Regions from separate parts of the Homo sapiens genome. Here region 2 is linked to region 1. The links are contacts of gene promoters, found by promoter capture Hi-C in blood cells and fetal thymus (Javierre and others, 2016). All regions are on one chromosome and are shown on one strand. The core of a region is centred on a gene start or on the middle of the fragment in contact, and the rest is flanking DNA. Distances in the headings are between cores, read along the strand shown.

What was found. The method cuts DNA at HindIII sites, captures the fragments that hold promoters and counts their contacts. A CHiCAGO score of 5 or more calls a contact.
Region 2: a fragment that was not itself captured here is called in contact with the fragment with the promoter of ADAM15 in region 1 in 1 of 17 cell types (neutrophils); the score reaches 5.3 in neutrophils.

The regions. Positions count from the first base shown.
Region 1 is chr1:155,047,480-155,053,470 of GRCh38, forward strand. It overlaps ADAM15 (ADAM metallopeptidase domain 15), which reads left to right and starts at 3,837. Exons shown (of 23, transcript NM_207197.3): 1 at 3,837-3,986; 2 at 5,192-5,298; 3 at 5,938-5,991. The coding sequence starts at 3,908. It overlaps DCST1 (DC-STAMP domain containing 1), which reads left to right. Exons shown (of 17, transcript NM_152494.4): 15 at 308-450; 16 at 578-691; 17 at 3,138-3,451. The coding sequence ends at 3,389. DCST1-AS1 (DCST1 antisense RNA 1) reads right to left here. Exons shown (of 4, transcript NR_040773.1): 2 at 1,790-1,882. It overlaps ADAM15-EFNA4 (ADAM15-EFNA4 readthrough), which reads left to right and starts at 3,837. Exons shown (of 26, transcript NR_176418.1): 1 at 3,837-3,986; 2 at 5,192-5,298; 3 at 5,938-5,991. RefSeq lists an enhancer at 3,012-3,071 and a silencer at 3,542-4,001. The HindIII fragment of the contact is 11,546 bases long and covers 1-5,372 here.
Region 2 is chr1:154,448,797-154,454,634 of GRCh38, forward strand. IL6R (interleukin 6 receptor) reads left to right here. Exons shown (of 10, transcript NM_000565.4): 8 at 1,115-1,184; 9 at 5,692-5,785. Among named protein-coding and RNA genes, the nearest start is that of IL6R-AS1, 45 kb to the left of the region's middle. The HindIII fragment of the contact is 3,626 bases long and covers 1,888-5,513 here.

The DNA of each region.
Region 1 (5,991 bases), core at 2,587-5,086:
AAAAGGGGAGCATGACCAGCTTCAGTCAGAGGAGTCTGGAGGCCAGGGTCTTGTGGCTAGGGGGCCCCAGCCCTCCAGAGCAGCACTGTCCAACAGGACATTCAGTCAAGATAGAAATCTGCAAGATCTGTGCCACATTGGGCCCAGCGGCTACAGTACTGACAGGGCAGTTCTGCAGTGAGGGGCAGGCAGGAGGAGAGCAGGGGAATCAGAGGACTGCACCTCCCACTGGGATGGGAAGTCCAACCCAGGGCTGCCCTGCCCCTTGGCTGGTCCTGACCAGACCCCTGGCCTGCCCCTCCCCTAGCCTGCCTGCCCCAGCCTGTGGGCCTGGATGCCAGGGCCTACTGGAGAGCTGCAGTACCGATTGGCCTGTTAGTGTGTCTCTGCCTGTTACAGGCTTTTGGCTACCGACTCCGGAGGGTCATCGCAGCCTTCTACTTCCCCAAGGTTTGCCCCTCCCCAGACCTCTCCACCCCTACACACCTGCACACACACACACACACCACCCAGCTCCCTACCAACTCCATATTTGGGGGATGCCTTTCTCTATCATTGACCCCCTTCCTGCCCCCAGCGAGAGAAGAAGCGGATCCTGTTCCTCTACAATGACCTATTGAAGAAAAGAGCAGCCTTCACCAAACTCAGGAGGGCCGCTATCCTGAGGCGGGAGCGACAGCAGAAGGCTCCGGTAAGTCCAGGCGTAAGTGCTGCTGCCAGCTCCTGGCTGGGTCTAAGTACAGCAGGCAAGGGGCAGCTCCCTTCAGTCCACCCAGCACCCACCAATGGTCGCAGGCCTACTCGAGCCTGGTAAGTTCTTTTTATTTTTTGAGATGGAATCTCACTGTGTCGCCCAGGCTGGAGTGCAGTGGCACGATCTCGGCTCACTGCAACCTCTGCCTCCCAGGTTCAAGCGATTATCCTATCTCAGCCCCCCACTCCACAAGTAGCCAGGATTACAGGCACACGCCATCACGCCCAGCTATTTTTTTGTATTTTTAGTAGAGACAGGGTTTCACCATGTTGGCCAGGCTGGTCTCAAACTCCTGACCTCAGGTGATCTGCCCACCTCAGCCTTCCAAAGTCCTAGGATTACAGGCGTGAGCCACCAAGCCCAGCCAAGCCCGGTGTAATCTGATGCAACACATGCTGAGGGCCCCAGCCATCCAGCTCCTAAGGTCAGGGCTGTGCCCGTTTCTGAATCCCAGGATTCAGCCCAGCCTAAGACACTCAGTGGACCATTAGGAAGCAGGCAGAAAAGGAGAATGAGATTTAATACAGTCTGCTCATAGAAAAGCAAGAGGGCCGCACAGAAACAGGAGGCCCAAGGCAAAACCAAAGTTTCTACCAGAGGGCTGCAGACCAGAAGCTCAGTGCAGTTCAAGGGACAGGAGGAGGCAGGTGGGCTGGGAGTCAGGAAGGCCTCATGCAGGGGCACATGGTAAGGCACATGGAATCTGAGGAAGCAGACTCCAGTCCATACTCCCTCATTAAGTTGTGTCACCTTGGCCAAGGTCTTCACTGAGCCTCAGTTTCTCCCTCTGAAGAATGGCAAGACTGGAGAGATCTGTAAGGCCTGCTCACTGGAGATCAGCCTAGAGTGGTGGTCAGGTGTGGGACTCCGGTGCCAGAGGGCCTAAGTGTGTATCCCGGCTCCTTCCCTCATTACTATGACAACGGTGTGACCTTGAGCACATGACTTAACTGCTGTGCCTGGGCTTTTGCCTTCCATAAAATGGGGTTAACTACTCCATCTGGTTGTTTTAAGGATTAAATGAGTTGTACTTACATGGTGCTGGCATGCAGCAAGTTCCATATGCATGCATGTTATCATTGGGTGACCCTGGGCAGTGATCACATCTCCAAGCATCAGTTTTCTCACCTGAAAAAAAGGAGATGATAATAACACTATCTGCCTTACATGACAATTGAATTGAATTTTTTTTTTTTTTTGAGACTAAGTCTCACTCTGTCGCCCAGGCTGGAGTGCAGTGGCGTGATCTTGGCTCACTGCAACCTCCACCTCCCCAGTTCAAGCGATTCTCGTGCCTCAGCTTCCCGAGTAGCTGGGATTACAGGCACACACTACCACGCCCGGCTAATTTAGAATTGAAATAATTTATGTACAGTATCTTAGTACAGGACCTGACATTATAAACAATGAGTGGCAGCCATTCTTATTTAATCAGTCCTAACAAAGTTCATAAAAGTGAGACTGTGTTTGCTTAGCTTTTTCCCTAGGGCCTGGATACCCCCAGCCCCCATGACACACAATAGGGGCCAAATGAATGTGTTGTGAAAAAATGAAAAACAAAAAACAAAAAAGAACATGCTGGGATTCCTTGACAGGGTCGTGAAGCAAACTGAATGTGAATGCACAGATGGAAATGTGCCAGACAGTCATTCCAAGCAGAATGTGCAAAGACTCAGTCCACAGGGAATGCGAAGTGCCAGGGCTAGTCTCAGGAGAAACTGGCTCAGAAGAGACAGCTCTCAGGGAGGGCTAAAGTAGGAAAGAGGCTAGAAAGGGACCAGGTGAGGGAAGGCTCTGAAGGCCAAGCCCAAGAGTTCTGCCTGTCTGGCAGGCAGCAGGGCCTCTGGAGTTTCTTGGGCAAAGAGTGGCTGCTTCCTGGGTAAGGTGGCCTGTGGAAAATCCCTGACAACTGTGTAGAGACATGTCGTGAGGGATGGCAGGGAGCATAGTGAACTAGGTTTGTGGTTTGGAATCAGGGCCCCTGGGGTCCAGCCAAGTTGGATTGTTTACTATCTGTGTGACTTTGAGAGTCACTTCACCTTTCTCAACTGTAAAGTGGGGATAGCAACAGTGATAGTCGATCTGGCCTGCTCACTTCTCAGCCTCACTGTGAGAACCAAATAAGATGATTTACAGGAAAGTGCAAATGAGAGTTGTGGCTGATATCCGCTTGGAGAGAGCCTGGAGGGTGCATCCTCCCATTCTCCATCACAGAGTTGGGGAGGGAGGCACCCTCGCCCTCCAGGGGTTTCCTTTGTCCAACCCAGCCTCCTCCAACACGCGGGAATTGTCAGGCCTGGCGACTTCAGACAGGAAACGCTGTCCAGTTCCCCTTCTTTCCCGCCTCGCTCCCGGGCTGGCGCTAACGCCCACCTCCCAACAGCGCCACCCGCTGGCGGATATCCTGCACCGCGGCTGCCCGCTCCTGCGCCGCTGGCTGTGCCGGCGCTGCGTGGTGTGCCAGGCACCCGAGACGCCCGAGTCCTACGTGTGCCGGACGCTGGACTGCGAGGCCGTGTACTGCTGGTCGTGCTGGGACGACATGCGGCAGCGGTGCCCGGTCTGCACGCCCCGCGAAGAGCTCTCTTCCTCCGCCTTTAGTGACAGCAACGACGACACTGCCTACGCGGGGTGAAGAGGCGTCCTGCTCGCTCTTCCGCACCGTCCTTCCCGGTTAATAAAATGCCCTGTACGCTTCACGTGGGTCGGGGACTGGGGTGAGCCGCGCACTGCCTCGCCTGCAGTCGGGAAAGCCTGCCCGCCCGACCTCTCCGAGCCAGGCCGCGCACAGGAGGCAGGGAGGCCGCGAAGCTACTAGGGAGGGGTCCGGACCTGGCGCCGGGTGAAGGCGCGCCGCCCAAGCCGGTCGGACCGGGCACCGGCTCCCACTCCGCACAGTTGCGGGGAAGCGGTAGCGCTGAGCAGCGCGGGCGTAGTGGGCGGTGTCCCCGCTCCCGAGGCACCCGGCGCGCAGCGGGGCGGGCTTTGCCGGGGGCGGAGCTTGGCTTGGGGCCGGGTGGGAGGGGGCGGGCCGGGGCGGGGCCTGGTGGCCGCGCGGCGCTGCTGGGTTCTCCGAGGCGACCTGGCCGCCGGCCGCTCCTCCGCGCGCTGTTCCGCACTTGCTGCCCTCGCCCGGCCCGGAGCGCCGCTGCCATGCGGCTGGCGCTGCTCTGGGCCCTGGGGCTCCTGGGCGCGGGCAGCCCTCTGCCTTCCTGGCCGCTCCCAAATATAGGTGAGTCCTCCGCCTGGAGTGGGTCGGGGGGCGGACTGGGAGGGAGGTGCAGGAAAGTCGGAAGGCATTAGGGTAATGGGGCCGGACGGAGACCCTGGGAGAGCCCAGCCAGAGCGCGGCCCGCCCTGGTCCGCTGTCCTGGGCCTAGGGCCCGGTGACTTGGCGATGGGGTGAAAAGAGAAGGAGGGGGGATGCCGGCGCCCCCTGCCTCCTGCCTGGTCATCCTCTGCGCGGTCCCTGCGGACACTTTCAGGCTCAGGTACCAGGTACCGAGGGGCCTGTCCAGCGCCACTTCAAGATCGTGATGAGAGGGTCGCTGCTCCCCAGGACTGGCATCTTCGCTGCTCTGGGGCCTAGCTAACCGTTCGACCCGGTGCCAGGGCGCTGAGCGGGCATGGCTTGTAGGGTTTAGTGAAGAGGATTCTCTCTAGCCTCTATTCCAGGCCTGGGGCCGCCAGGCACTCCTCACCCTGGTGCTGTTGCCACCAGTGCCTGGCCGAGCGGGAGGGGCCCGAGATGAGCCAGGAGAAGGGAGAATTGGCCAGGAAAGAGGCTGGGACACCAACTCCTCCTTGGAACTTTCACTTCCCGCTGCTGTCTTGGGCCGGGACCGAGAGGGCAGGCGCGGGTGGAGTGTCCGGAGGAGAGAGGGCCATTGTGTGTTGGGGGGGTGGGGGGTGCTCGAGGAGGAAGCAGAGGCTGTAGGCAGCGGGTGTGCCTGACTGGGCATGAGGGTGTTTAGGGAGGTGGGGGTGTTTGCACTGCTCACCCAGAAATGGGCGTTCCTGGCATCTCCGATGTGAGCGAAGGGGAGGGTGAGCGGGCACCCGGCCACAAGGCTTAGCTCAGTCTCGAGAGGGGGCGTTCCTGAAGTGGGGGGAGAGTGATTGGGAGGGAGTGGGAACCGGGGAGGGTCCTGTGAGAACCTGGGATTGGCCGGAAGGGGACAAGGAGGGCCACAGGCTGCGCAAGCCGAAAGTCTTTCTTGGGGACTTGTGAATGGGTTGGTGGGTGGAAAGCCATAAATTAGAGAGACACCCTCTCCTTCCAGTATTCTTCTTTAAGTCTCAGCATGCAATGTGGAAGCCCCTCAGGTACCTAAGGGTCTTGATGGGCTGGGAGCTGGTGGATCTGAGGGCACCTGTCACCCCCAGCCCTGCTGTCGATTCCCTCAGTACTGTCTTGGGGTGTCCTGGGACCTGCAGGTGGCACTGAGGAGCAGCAGGCAGAGTCAGAGAAGGCCCCGAGGGAGCCCTTGGAGCCCCAGGTCCTTCAGGACGATCTCCCAATTAGCCTCAAAAAGGTGCTTCAGGTGAGCTCTCACTCCCCTCTAATAAATAAACGAATCCACACACGCCCCGGTATAGCCAGGTGTCTCAAAGCCAAAGCTTGGCTGAGGAGCTGGTGGGTAGAGCTCACTGTAGTGGGTCTATCCCAGGCCCAGCTGCCTCTCCCACCACACCCCAGCACCTGGCTTCACTTATCTCCCTCTCCCTCTGCACACACGTGTATCTGTCTGCCTCAGCCCCACCCAACCCATCCATCTCCACTGGGGAAATTGTGAAGCCAAACTTGCTTTCTTCATCTCATGTTGTCGGTTTTCTCAGTGGGGGGATTTGGAAAGAGTCAGGACCTTACCAAACCCCCCCCCCCCCACCCCATTCTAAAGCTGAGTCAGAGGAAGGGCTGGGGCTTGTGCTGGGTCCTACACGGTGCTTCCTCTCTGGGCAGGAAGCCGAGAAGGGGTGGCTCAGATACCTTCCTTGACCTCCGCACACAACCCCCCAGAACAATGCTCCAGGCCAGGCAGGGTTTCCTGGCCCCTCCCCTGGGATCCCCCCACCAGTGATCTAATTGCTGGTGCTCTTCTGTGGGCCTGAGGTTTTCTGGTTAGAGAGGCTGGGAGTTGTGGACAGGTCTAGGGAGGTGACCTGCCCTCTGGTGCCCACAGACCAGTCTGCCTGAGCCCCTGAGGATCAAGTTGGAGCTGGACGGTGACAGTCAT
Region 2 (5,838 bases), core at 2,451-4,950, 600 kb before region 1:
TCCTGCTAAACTGTGAGCCTTGCATTTGCTGTTTCATTGGCTCCTTATGTTAACATTGCAAGGGAGTGCTTGTAAGGGCTTTTTTTTTTTTTTTTTTTTTTTTTTTTTGAGACGGAGTCTCGCTCTGTCGCCCAGGTGGGACTGCGGACTGCAGTGGCGCAATCTTGGCTCACTGCAAGCTCCGTTTCCCGGGTTCACGCCATTCTCCTGCCTCAGCCTCCCGAGTAGCTGGGACTACAGGCGCCCGCGACCGCGCCTGGCTAATTTTTTTTGTATTTTTAGTAGAGACGGGGTTTCACCTTGTTAGCCAGGATGGTCTCGATCTCCTGACCTCATGATCCACCCGCCTCGGCCTCCCAAAGTGCTGGGATTACACGCGTGAGCCACCGCGCCCGGCCTTGTAGGGCTTCTTAACGTGAGTTAAGTCTGAGGCCAGGGCCGGGCACAGGGGCTCACACCTGTAATCCCAGCACTTTGGGAGGCTGAGGCAGGCAGATCACCTGAGGTCAGGAGTTCAAGACCATCCTGACCAACATGGAGAAACCCTTTCTCTACTGAAATACAAAATTAGCTGGGTGTGGTGGCGCATGCCTGTAATCCCAGCTATTTGATAGGCTGAGGCAGGAGAATCGCTTGAACCTGGGAGGCGGAGGTTGCAGTGAGCCGAGATCATGCCATTGCACTCCAGCTTGGGCAACAAGAGTGAAACTCCATTTCACAAAAAAACAAACAAAAAAAAAGAAGTCTGTCCAAGGTGACATAGCTCGTAAGTGGTGGAACCAGCATTCCAGTCATGGTAGTACCTGCATCCTTGCATCGGACCTGTAAGGACAACAGCTGCTTCAGTGTATCCACTGAGCATCTTCTCTGTGCAGCTTTAAGCTTTTGGTGGAGAGGCAGGTGGAAAGAAAGCCCCACCTTTAGCAGGCATGGTGTGGATAGAAAAAATGCAAATAATAGTATTATTGATTTTTCCACTGTTATGAATGAAATGGAGAAAGGAATGCTTTGGGTGGATCAGGGAGGGCTCTGAGGAGGAGGTAACTCCTGAACTGGTTCTGAATGATGGTGCAATCTGCAGAAACAGGCTGATGGTGAGGAATGTCTCTTTTAGGCACTTACTACTAATAAAGACGATGATAATATTCTCTTCAGAGATTCTGCAAATGCGACAAGCCTCCCAGGTAAGGACTGGGTATTTTCATATTCCCAGGGTCCGAGGGACAGAAGATTTGTCTCTGCAGAAAGTCCTTTCTTATTTGGACATGTCGTCAGAGGATCAATCACAGATCAATCGCAGAAATGTTCTGTGTGTGTGTGTGTGTGTGTGTGTGTGTGTGTGTGTGTTGGAGAGAGTCTTGCTCGGTTGCCCAGGCTGGAGTGCCGTGGCATGATCTCGGCTCACCACAACCTCTGTCTCCTGAGTTCAAGCGATTCTCCTGCCTCAGCCTCCCAAGTAGCTGGGATTACAGGCGCATGCCACCATGCCCAGCTAATTTTTGTATTTTTACTAGAGACAGGGTTTCACTATGTTGGCCAGGCTGGTCTTGAACTCCTGACGTTGTGATCCACCCACCTCGGCCTCCCAAAGTGCTGACATTACAGGCATGAGCCACCGTGCCTGGCCAGAAATGTTCTTTTATTACTTTATATGTTGAACTTTGATATTGTTAGCTAAGATATAATGAGGAGACCGTAAGAAAAGTGGGACAAATCACTTCGAGATATTTGAAAAGTGAGATATTTCACAGTTGGCCCACAATACAAATGAATGTGCTGCAAACAAGATTATTGGAGTCTGAAATGGAATACCTGTTGAGGGAAATCTTTATTTTGGGAGCCCTTGATTTCAATGCTTTTGATTCCCTATCCCTGCAAGACCAGGAAAGCTTACCAGTATTTGAATCAAGAAAGATCACAAGTCCTGTGTTTGACTAGGTATATGGGACTTATGGAATCCAGACTCCAGAGGTTCAGTAGTTGAGCAGCTCCCCTGATGACTCTTGGGCTTCGTGAGGCAGTCCTTGCCCTCGTTCCCCATCCCTGGGTGGATTCCTGCCTGCACTGATGCTGGCTGCCTCTGCTACAACAGCCCAGGTACAAAGCCCTACCATGGTGCAGTGCACCTGTGGAGGACCTGCTAAATACCTGGGGCTGAGCTCTGCACAGTTGGGGACTCGGAGAGGATTAGAGCCATCCCTGTTCTCAAGGAGGCTACAGTCCAGGCTCTGACAAAGAGTAAATTGGTAACTGTGACAAAGACCAGCATGTGAGATGGGCCAAAAGGGAGGCACAGATAAAGCAAAGTGGAATTTAGAGATTTGAAAGAGTATATCAAGCTGAGCAGTCACAGAAAGCTCATGGAGGAAGTGCCATTTGAAATGGGCTTTGAATGGTATGGGTGGGATGCAAGAGGTTGGGTGTTCAAAGGTTGCTATGGGCCGGGCGCGGTGGCTTACGCCTGTAATCCCAGCACTTTGGGAGGCCGAGGTAGGAGAATCACCTGAGGTCAGGAGTTCAAGACTAGCCTGGCCAACATGGTGAAACCCCATCTCTACTAAAAATACAAAAATTAGCCAGGCGTGATGGCAGGTGCCTATAATCCCAGCTACTTGGGAGGCTGAGGCAAGAGAATCACTTGAACCTGGGAGGCAGAGGTTGCAGTGAGCTGAGATCGAGCCACTGCACTCTAGCCTGGGCCACAGAGTGAGATTCCATGTCAAAAAAACAAAACAACAACAACAAAAACAAAAGCTGCTATGGAGGAGGGGAACCTCCAGTCCTCTTCGTCCACCCTCACTGATGATTTTTTTTCTTTTTTTTGAGACGGAGTCTCGTCAAGCGATTCTCCTGCCTCAGCCTCCCGAGTAGCTGAGATTACAGGCATGCACCACCACGCCTGGCTAATTTTGTATTTTTAGTAGAAACGGGGTTTCTCCATGTTAGTCAGGCTGGACTCGAACTCCCCACCTCAGGTGATCTGCCTGCCTCGGTCTCCCAAAGTGCTGGGATTACAGGTGTGAGCCACCGCGCCTGGCCAGCATTCTCAAATTTAACATGTCTAAAAGAGAACACCTGACGCCTCCCCACCTATTCAACCCAGATCTGTTCTTCTCCATCTTCCCTATCTCAGTAACTGGTACCGCATTTGCTCAGGTGCGGGGGATCGGGCAGGCTTCCTCCCTACTCCTCATCCTGTGTCCAGTCCCTCAGCAAGCGTTGTCCTTGTGCTTTGAGACGTATCTAGGAATTGACCACTCCTCACCATCTCCAGTGCCAACACCCAGTCCAGCCCCTGCCGCCTCTCATCCAGCAGGGCTTCCTGGGCTGCCAACTGGTCTACCAACTTCTAGTCTTAACCCCCAACCAACTCTTTTCCAACCAGCACTTAGAGTATCCCTTAAAACACAAATCCAAGCTCTCTCTGGCTCAGTACCATCTCCCCCAGAGTAAAAGTCAAAGTCTTGACAAAGTCCCCAGTTTCTACGAGGAGTCCCAGCAAAGCCATGTGGTCCCCTATCTTTAGACGTTGCCTCTCCATTCTCCCTTTCCTCGCTCTGCCCCAGCCACACTGCCCTCCTTGCTCCTCCACACATGCTCTACCTCAGGGCCTTTGCACTTGCTGTGTGCTCTGCCTGGACACGCTTCCTCTGACATTCACTTTGCCAGCTCCTTCCTATTACTCAAGTCTCTGCTCAGATGCACCCTTCTCCGGGAGGCTTTTCCTGATAATTTTTTTAAAAAACATTTGTTTGGCCGGGCGCGGTGGCTCACGCCTGTAATCCCAGCACTTTGGGAGCCGAGGCAGGTGGATCACGAGGTCAGGAGATCAGGACCATCCTGGCTAACACGGTGAAACCCCGTCTCTACTAAAAATACAAAAAATTAGCCGGGTGTGGTGGCGGGTGCCTGTAGTCCCAGCTCCTCGGGAGGCTGAGGCAGGAGAATAGGGTGAACCCGGGAGGCGGAGGTTGCAGTGAGCCGAGACAGCGCCACTGAGCAAGACTCCGTCTCAAAAAAAAAAAAAATTCATTTGTCTGTCTCCCTTGATTGGATGTAAGATCCATTTAGATACATGATAGGCACTCAAAGAATATTTGTTGGATGAAAGAAGGAACAAATATATGGCCAGGCGCCGTGGCTCATGCCTGTAATCCCAGCACTTTGGGAGGCCGAGGTGGGCGGATCACCTAAGGTCAGGAGTTGGAGACCAGCTTGGGCAACATGGCAAAACCTCATCTCTACAAAAAATACAAAAATTAGCCGGGCATGGTGGCATGTGCCTATTGTCCCAGGTACTTGGGAGGCTGAGGTAGGAGAATTGCTTGAACCCGGGAGGCGGAGGCTGCAGTGAGCGGAGATCACACCACTGCACTCCAGCCTGGGTGACAAGAGCGAGACTCCATTTCAAAAAAAAAGAAGGAACAAATAGAAAAGATGATGAAATGTTAATAAATGAGCAAGCCAAGCATACTGCTTTCATTACACAGCTGCATCTCTCAAGAGACATGGGACATGCTTGGAGAAACTTGTCTTTGCAGCCAGCGCCCGCTCACCAGTCTGGGCTCTCTGCGCTGCCTGACTCTAGTAGGCATCTGAAGTGATGGCTGGCAGGCAGCCTCTTCGTCAGCAGTGGATTGCATTTTGGGTAGAAGAGCCTGAATGCTGGGTCCATACAACTGTGACTGCATTCCCAGCAGAAGGAGATGGTTTTGTTTAGATGTGCCCTCTGTCTAGTCCAGGGACTCTGGCAGTGGTAGGAAGAGCCTTTCTGTGGGAAGACATGGCTGCTTGCAAAGCTGGTTTGTTCTTTCCTTCATTCAAAGAAATATTTTGGCGATCCTACTTTGTATTCGGCACTGTGTAAGCTGCTGGCAGTGTTACAGTGAAAAAGACACATGTGGTCCCTGCCTTCAGGGAACTCAGTCTAGAGGTGGAAATGGAGAAATACTGGGAGGGGCACTTGCTCAGCTTGGAGTGGGGTCAATTCTCAAAGGAAATGACATCACCTCATCTGAGATCCAAAGGCCAAGTAGGGACTAGACCACAAAAGGGTGCAGCAAAGGTAGAGAAAACAGACAGGAGAGAAGAGGGAACGTGTGTGGAGAGCCCTGGAGGAAAAAGATCATGGCTTGTTGGAGAACTGAATGAAGTTCATATGGCTGGGGCTTGAGTACCAAATGCAGGGACAGGCAAGAGATGACACCCCCATGGAGAAAACTGCTTCCAAACACTTGATTTAAAGCATCCAATCCTCTCTGACATTGTCCTCAAAGGAACTGCCATCAAGGAGGTCCCCAAAGCCTTCCGTTTGTTGTACCCTCTTTGTGCCTTGTGGGAGCAGGTGGAATGTCACCAGAAAAGCCACTCTGAAAGTGAGTAGGAGTCTGTGGCTAGCCACAGGCGCTCAGAAACCCTGAGCTTGAGGTGTCTCTCTTGCCAAGTGGTGGAATCCTGGAATCTAGAGTGGGCTTTGTTAAGAAACAAACAAACAAACAAACAAAAAACAGTTAAGCTTGTCAAATGGCCTGTTGGTTGGCAGAGCTGTTTCATTTTCTGGGAGGGGGGTTGGAGGGGAAGGTTCCTTTGAGGCTTTTGACAGCACCAGCTAAGTGGTTTTCTTCTCCTCCTATTCCTTTTTCTCCATATTCTCCTCTTCCTCCTCTATCTTCAATTTTTTTTTTAACCTAGTGCAAGATTCTTCTTCAGTACCACTGCCCACATTCCTGGTTGCTGGAGGGAGCCTGGCCTTCGGAACGCTCCTCTGCATTGCCATTGTTCTGAGGTGAGATGGGTCCCAGGGGATGGCCCTGTGGTGTTCTCATATTTCTTATCTAG